Linked DNA regions of Homo sapiens: all the other regions are linked to region 2. The links are contacts of gene promoters, found by promoter capture Hi-C in human tissues and cell types (Jung and others, 2019). All regions are on one chromosome and are shown on one strand. The core of a region is centred on a gene start or on the middle of the fragment in contact, and the rest is flanking DNA. Distances in the headings are between cores, read along the strand shown.

Evidence for each region. The method cuts DNA at HindIII sites, captures the fragments that hold promoters and counts their contacts. A contact is called where the count stands out against the background at its distance.
Region 1: a fragment that was not itself captured here is called in contact with the fragment with the promoter of RNF222 in region 2 in 1 of the 25 tissues and cell types used here (aorta).
Region 3: a contact is called between a fragment that was not itself captured here and the fragment with the promoter of RNF222 in region 2, in 1 of the 25 tissues and cell types used here (lymphoblastoid cells).

Annotation. Positions count from the first base shown.
Region 1 is chr17:8,611,047-8,613,879 of GRCh38, reverse strand. The region is part of intron 2 of MYH10 (myosin heavy chain 10); the gene reads left to right. Among named protein-coding and RNA genes, the nearest start is that of MYH10, 18 kb to the left of the region's middle. The HindIII fragment of the contact is 6,260 bases long and covers 1-2,833 here.
Region 2 is chr17:8,396,559-8,399,258 of GRCh38, reverse strand. It overlaps RNF222 (ring finger protein 222), which reads left to right and starts at 1,432. Exons shown (of 3, transcript NM_001146684.3): 1 at 1,432-1,564. The HindIII fragment of the contact is 8,302 bases long and covers 1-2,700 here.
Region 3 is chr17:8,562,552-8,565,251 of GRCh38, reverse strand. All of the region lies in intron 7 of MYH10 (myosin heavy chain 10), which reads left to right. Among named protein-coding and RNA genes, the nearest start is that of MYH10, 67 kb to the left of the region's middle. The HindIII fragment of the contact is 5,307 bases long and covers 1-2,700 here.

The DNA of each region.
Region 1 (2,833 bases), core at 54-2,553, 210 kb before region 2:
TGGTTAATTGCTTTCTTAACTTACTTTCAGCTTTTCTGTGCCTGTGCCTTTAAAATATGTCTCTCATAAACTGCTTATGGTGGTTATTTTTGTCCCAAATCTGACAATATTTTTCAGCTGGAATATTTAGTTTATGTACATGTGATGTAATGACTGTTACATTTTAGCTTAAATCTGTCCTCTGATTCATTGCTTTCTTTTTATCCTACCCGCTCTATGTTTATTTTTTAATCTTTTTGTCCGTTGGTTATAATTTTTATTATTCTGTCTTTTCACCTCGTGTTAGCTGTCCATTTTTGCTATTTGCTTAGCTATTCTTTTAGTGGTTACATATTCCAACATGGATCCTTGACCTGTTAGACATGTGGAGCTCTTATTCTTTTGTAGATCATGATAGGTAGGGCCTGAGAGCACCTGAACAAATTTATTTCCTCTTCCTTCCTAATTTATGTGCTTTTGTTGTTTAATTCTCTCTATATTTTAAAACCCACAAGACACATATTACATTTTAATACTGTCGATATTCATTTAGTTTTATCCATTACTCTTTTTTTTCCACATCTTTTAGCTTCCGTTCTTTTAGAAAGGGCCCCTTTTATCTGAAGTATCTACTCGTCCTTTATTTTTGAAGTTTTTTTGGTTTTTGCTGGATTTGGAATTCAGAGCCGGCGGTTGTTTTCTTTTAACATTGTGAAAATGCCATTGCATCGGGTTCTGCCTTTCGTCTTTTTCTGTTGAGAATTCAGCTTGTAGTTTGATTGTTGTTCCCTTGAAGGTCATCGGTTTTCCTTTTCCCACCCCGGCCACTGGCTGTCTCTAAAATTTTCTCTGTCTTTGGATTTCAACACTTTTACTGTGATGGGCTTAGGTAAAGTTTTATTTTGTATATAGTGGGTCCTCCTTGTCTTCAAGGGATACATTCTAAGATCCCCAGTGGATGCCTGAAACCACAAATGGTACTGAACCATATATATATGATGTTTTTTCCTATACATACATACCTATGATAATTTTTTTTTTTTTTTGAGACAGAACAGAGTCTCCCTCTGTAGCCCAGGCTGGAGTGCAACGGTGCAATCTCGGCTCACTGCAACCTCCACCTGCCAGTTCAAGCAATTCCACTGCCTCAGCCTCTTGAGTAGCGGGGATTACAGGCGTGCGCCACCACGCCTGGCTAATTTTGGTATTTTTAGTAGAGACGGGGTTTCACCGTGTTGGTCAGGCTGGTTTTGAACTCCTGACCTCGTGATCTGCCCCCTCCTTGGCCTCCCAAAGTGCTGCGATTACAGGTGTGAGCCACCGCACCTGGCCATACCTATGATAAAATTTAATTTACAATTTAGGCGTGGTGGGAGATTAACAACAATAACTATTAAAATAGAGCAATTAAAACAATATACTTAATAAAAGTTATGTAAGTGGTTTCTCTCCCTCTTTCAGAATATCTTATTGTACTCTTCTTGTGATGATTTGATGAATTTCTTTTTCCTAGTTCACAAATTCACAGATAGAAGATTGATTCTTCCCATAGATCCTAGCAGCCTCAGCATATGATTTTATCGTTATTAAGTTGAAAACTTACCATATCACTTAAAGGAAGCACTTTGTGGCTTCTCTTTGGCATATCAGAATTGCCAGCATCACTACTCTTGTGCTTGGGGCTATTCTTAAGTAAAATAAAGGTGACTTGAACACAGTTGATCTGAGATCTGAGAGGGCTACCAAGTGATTAATAGCTGTACAGCATGATGATGCTGGACGAAGGGATAATTCACGGTCTGTGCACGATGGAGCGGAATTGTGCCAGATTTCATCACACTACTCAGAATAGTGCACAATTTAAAATGTATGAACTGTTTATTTCTGGAGTTTTTCAACAAATATTTTTGGACCACAGTTGATTGTGGACAACAAACTGCAGAAAGTGAAACCACAGATAAGGGGCACTACTGCATTCAGCTTGGAGATTGTAGTGGTTTTGACTCTGTGGCTTGATGGCTTTTGTTGGTCCGGGAAAATTCTTAGCCATTATCTCTTCAGATACTGCTTCTGCCTCATTCTCTTTTTTCTCCTTCTTGGACTCACATACTTCACATGCTCCAGATCGTTTCACCTCGTCCCATCTGGGTCTCACATTCCTCTACATTTTTATCCTTGTTTTTCCCCCATGGATCACTCTGGCTGTTTGCCTCTGATTAAAATGCCGTGTAACTAATTGTTTCTTCAGCTGTATCTAGCTTGCTGTTTAACACATGAATTCTTAATTGTAGTTACTGGTTTTCTTTTTTTGTTTTGTTTTGTTTTGTTTTGTTTTTCAGTTTTAGAATTTTCATTTGGGTTTTTCCTTTAATAGTTTCCAGTTCTCTGTCAGAATTCTCAGTCACGTCTTTAATTACTTGAACATATTGTAACCCAGGGCAATAATACAAGTCAATAAAAATAGACACACAGAGGTTCCAGATATTATCTTGGATTTCAGCCACAACTTGTTGCCTCATATGCCCAGTTATTGTGTACAAGGAATTGTGGAAATAGTTTGAGACTCTGGCTGGCATTAAGCTTATTCTAGAGTTTTGCTTTGGGCAGGCAGGCTTAGGGAAACTAGGACATGTAGTCCATGCAGGAGTTGACTTCTGTTCCAACTGGGCTTCACGCTGTGTGAGGGCTGGTCTGTTTCTCATATAGTCTTAACTCTTAGGGTGTAGCCATCAGGGTCCCAGCTGAAAGCTTGGGGTATTTACCACCGCCACACCAACCTCTTCCTGAGTAGACTGGAATGTTTTAATTTTTGTTCTCTTAGACTTTTGTGCTGCTGAAAGCTCTGCTTAGCATC
Region 2 (2,700 bases), core at 183-2,682:
TTGCTAATCTAGGACCACCTGGAACTCCCAGGGAAAGAACAAGAGAGACTGTGACGACGGCTTGCACTCACGGATCTCTGTCCATGGTGAAGTGGCCGAGTGCACTGGCCTGACTGTCCTCCCCACCAGCTTCAAGGTGTCCATTAAGCCAGGGCCATGACTGATCGGACAGAAGAGGGGTCATCCTGTGTCATCCTATGGGGTCACACACATGCTGGGCTGTGCCTTGGACCCAGTAACTTACTTTTTCAGAAGAAAACTGGTTTCTTGGGGACCTCCTGAGAGGACTGGGAGGGAATCCTCCAAAATGATTTCCAGTTCCCCGAACTTCATTCCTCCATTATTCTTGATGACTTTTTCTTTTTCTTTGAGACAGTCTCACTCTGTCATCCAGGCTGGAGTGCAGTGGTGCAATCTTGGCTCACTCACTGCAACCTCCACCTTCTGGATTCAAGCAATTCTTGTGCCTCAGCCTCCCGAGTAGCTGAGACTACAGGCTTGCACCACCTTGCCCAGCTAATTTTTGTATTTTTAGTAGCAACAGGGTTTCACCATGTTGGCAAGGCTGGTCTCGAACTCCTGGCCTCAAGCAGTCTGCCCGCCTCAACCTCCCAAAGTGCTGAGATTACAGGCATGAGCCACCATACCCAGTGGATGACTTTTTCTCTAATCACAAAAGAAACATACATTCAGGGTGAAAATGCAAACATCACAGAAATATAAAACTTAGAAAGTCTCTCCAGAGATAACTGCTATTAACAGTCTGATGTGTTTTCTTCCAGCTTTTCCTCTATGAATATGATCATGTATTATTATCTTCATAAATAGAATTGTATTACACAGGCTGTTCTGAAAGTTGCTTCCATTTATCATGATGCCGGGGACTTCTTTCCATATCTGTGTGCATTCCTGCTTCACTGGTCTTACTCGCCTCGTTCTTTATGCCAGTGGTGCTGGGTCTTTGGAGTTCTAAGCGCCTTTGGGTGTTCCATGAATGACAAATGCACACAGGCAGATCCCACAAATATATGACTCTGAGTGTCATAGACTTCCCGAGGCTGATCTACTACTGACCCCTTCACCCTGTGCATGGTGTGAGGATAGGGGTGTGGGGGGAAGATGGGGATCACAGAAATGGGTCCAGGAGGGTGGGAAGGACAGTGTGGGTGACTTTCCTATTGATAGGGAGACCCATGCCTGGGGAGCCTCAGTCAAAGGGGTCCTGGGTCACTGCCTCCACTGTGAGACCCTCTGACTCTCCTGAGCACCCACCCCTGGGCTCCTCCTCAAGCTGGGGGTTCCTCTCCTGGCATCCTCAGCAAGATCACCTGACTCCAGCAGCTGCCAACCCCCTGGGCAACGCCAAAGCCTCCTGGCCTCAAACGGGTTGGGCGACATTCACTTCCTCGCGCTGTCCTCCCGACCTGCTCTGTCATTAGGAATTGCCTCGGCGGTGGCGGTCACACTAACAGCAACAGGAGGAGATCGTGCTGCTGCTCAGCACCTCGGGGTGGCTCAGATCTGCTGGAGGCCCCAGGAGGGAAGGTGGATGCTGCTCTCTCCGGTCCCAGCTAAAGTGAGTCTAGGGGCCTGGATGGGCGTGGGGAAGGAGCTTGGCAATGTTGGAAGGTTGCCAACATTGGAAGGATGCAGGAGAATGAGAGAGAGAGAAATTGAGAGAGAGAGAGAAAGAGATACCTGTGGGTGAGCAACTAGTCACAGCTAAAGCTATAGGACCTTGCACTGGGGCTCCAGGAGGGAATCCCAGGTGCCTGGAAGTATCATTCTGTCCCACTGGCTCCTGTGCTGAGGTGGGGATGGGGGGTGTTTTCTCTGGGGTGGGGACACCTGCCCCCACACTCTGTTCCGGAGATGGGCTACTGCTGTGGGGGAGGCTCAGTACTGGGGCTTCCCAAGGTCAGCTCCCTTGGGCCAGCCATTGCCTTCCCCCTGCCTCCCAGGTGGCCAGAGGGGCATCCTTGTTTAGGGTCACTCTAAACCTAAAGAGGAAGGAACTTTGGGTAGTCACTTTTCTAACAGTGCTATTTCTTCTATTCCTTTGACCAAAGTCTGAAGACAAAGTCTTAAGCTCTGAGCCTCAGGTCCCTTATCTGTAAAATGAAGATAATCCCTACGCCCCAGCCTTGTTGTCAGGATCAGAAGAGGAAGGGATGCAAAATGCCAAGCATATAATTAGGATTCAATAAATGGTCGCTGTTGTAAATAATAATAATTATTTATTATTAGCTCAATACTGGTCCCACTTCACCTAGGAATACTTTCCAGCCCTCCTCTCCCCTCAGTTTCCTAAGGCACCAACAGGGATGCTTTGGCACTTACTGCATTCTTCTTCAACTCGTTTGTGCTCAAACTAGAGTATGTTCCTTGCATTTCTTCTGTTGCCCTCTCCCTCACCCCAGCATCCAAACAGAATCATACCATAAGAGGAACTCAAGGATGGGGAATGGAATGGGATTCAGAAAGCGAGAGAGGCAGAGGGAGGGGTCAGGGAAAGACTGAGAAAGGGAGGCAAGAAGGTGGGGAAGGAGGTAGCATCGTCCAGGTGTTGACGGCGTGGCTCTCCGGAAGCACGGGACGGGGGAAGGATTGCCCAGAGAGGCCATCGTTGGAAGCGGGAAGGACTGTCCAGAGAGGCCATCATTGGAAGGGGGAAGGATTGTCCGGAGAGGCCATCGTTGT
Region 3 (2,700 bases), core at 66-2,565, 170 kb before region 2:
TTTTAATTATTAAGCACCTATTATTTGCCAGCCACTGTGCAGCTTAATTGATATCTCCAAATGGATGTCAATAGATTCTTGAAGTTTAACATATTCCAAATGAAAGTTTTTCCTTTCCTTTCAAAATTTGTTCCTTTATGTCTTACATCAATAGATGGTATTATGAAATCACCCAGTTGGTTAAACTTAAAATAAAAGCAATAGCAAAACCTAGAAAGACAAAATACCTAGGAATCAGCCTTTTTCTCATGGCCCACGTCCAGGCCAACAGTGAATCCTGTTGGTTAAACATCTAGAAGGTGTTTCAGATCTGTCCACATTTCTTCTCCTAACTAGCTAGTTAGTCTAAAACCATATCTGAGGATATTTCTTCTATTATTCTCTATCACAGTATCCTGTTTATTTCCCTCATGGCACCTATCACAAGCTGTAACTAATTACTTTGTGTATTTATTATCTTTCCTAGTAGAATGTCTAAGATCTTTGTCAGTAGGGACTTTGTATCTTTGGTTCCTAGCATAGTGCCCCACAGGTATATTTATGGATTTTATGGAATTCATTTACTGAAAATGTGGCAGACACTACAAAGTGCCATACACTCTTCCAGGCCCTGGGAATATACCAGTGGTCAAAACTAAGGTTCCCTAGCCCTGTAGAGCACACCTTCATATTGGTGTTAACTTTAATATGTTTTCAACGGCATGTCATGATGTTGTTGAGCTCGGGGAAGGTAGTGCATATGCTAGATCCTCTGAGAATATGCATGCCCCCATTTTAGAAGCAAGGGTAGAGAACATGAGGGAGGCAGTTGCTCCGTGGGCAGGCCAGGCCTTGGGTTGAGATCAATGTCATACCAAGAGTAGTACGATGTTAAAAAATGAGTTGTGTATACAGTGAAATTTCATGCAGTCATATTTATAAGCTACATGCTTACAGTGAAAATATTTGAGGCTATAAACTCCATAAGCTTTAGAATCCATTTGGTTCCATTTCTTTGATCTGATATAGACGACTAATTTCCTGAAGAATATCTTTTCTTTCAAAGATACTAGCATATGGTTTATATTAAAGGGATTCTTTATTTAGGAGAGCATTACCCTTAAGAAAATAATCGTTCACAGTTAGTCCAGTTCTCTGTTTATGGAGAAGTAAAATGCGTTCCAGATGGAGGAGATTTATGTAAAAAGAATCTCTCATAATGAAACTTTAAAAACAGGGACTTCAATTTCAAAATGATTGTTTGGATCAGCAGGTACATCTTCCCTCACAGAGTTTTAGTTAGAATCACTTTCTCTATTTCCACAAATCCTTCTTTTCTTTCCTTTTATTTTCTTTCTCTCTCTCTTTTTTTTTTTTTTTTCCAAGTTGACTTAAGCCAGGCTGGCAATTTCCAACTATTATGTACCTCTTGGTAGATAAGTATCCTCCAGCAGTTAAAGCTAGGTAAGGGCTCTAGGCATCCTCCTTACAGTTTGGCGACCAGGTTATAATGAAAGCACGTCCGGATTCTGCACCCTCATATCTATTTATCAAAAGGCAGTTGCTGAAAACAGTTTTGTAAGTTGCATGCAGCCCAGCTCTGTTTAATTTCTCTAACCAAACGTTTACCTGAAAGATTTACTGAGGCAAATGTGACAGTATCAGTGACAGAATATGGTCTGCACCAGGCAACCAGCATCTTCCAGATCACTGGCTGCACACAGCCATTTAGTATCAAGCTCTAGGAGCACCCCCAACAATACAGCCTCCTGGACTTGCTGGAGTCTCAACACTTGTTCCCTTGACCCCGGATTGGGGAGGGTCTATATATATCTTTCTTTGTTTTTATTTATGTATTTATCTTTTTTTAAGGCTCTATTTGAAGTTAATATATATCTCTTTCTAATCAGTCCATGGCTTAATGCCACTCATGTTACCCTAGTGATTTCTAATATCCATTATACTAAGTAATGAGGCCACTTAGTGCATGTGAAAACTCATTTTACTAACAACAAAGCTTCTGGTTTGGTTTGGAGATTAAGATAGCTAAAGCATTTAAGGTGGCCATCTGGCCTTTGGATTAAGTGCTAGCTCATTACTCCTAGAATGGATTTTCTCATTTAGGGCAAATAGCTAACACACATGCATAGCACCCTATCTGTGCTGATGTGTTTTAATGCATACTGCAGATCATGTAATAACTTTAGATGCCAAATTAAGAAGGGGGAAAATATGTTCAGAATATGAAACAAACCTGCATTGCCCCTAAATTAAGTTGCTAACTAATAACTAATCTAGTTTTAGTTACTATAGATACATTATAATCACCCCAGAAAAGATTCTAGAAATCGATGTCAATTCAGAACAAACAAAATTTTTGAAACTAATTAAGATAATTTTCATTTTATTTTCTTCAGGGTATGAAAATATCAAATATCCGGGTTTCCCTATTGCACATTTTGAGTGAAATCCTTAACAAGTTATATTTGATTATATATGAGAGAATTCTAGTTGTCTTTGCTGTTGAGAGCTCTCACAGTACACGTGTAATTTCACTTGTTTCTGGATTGGTATACAATAAGCGTTATCAAAATGTGTAGCTGTAATTAATACACAAGGTACTTGTCACGTTTTGGGGGTTTTCCATGCTTTTGTTTTTACTGGTGAAGTTCCGATTGAATATTCTAAGTACCATAATCTGACCTTTATGCAAATCAATTA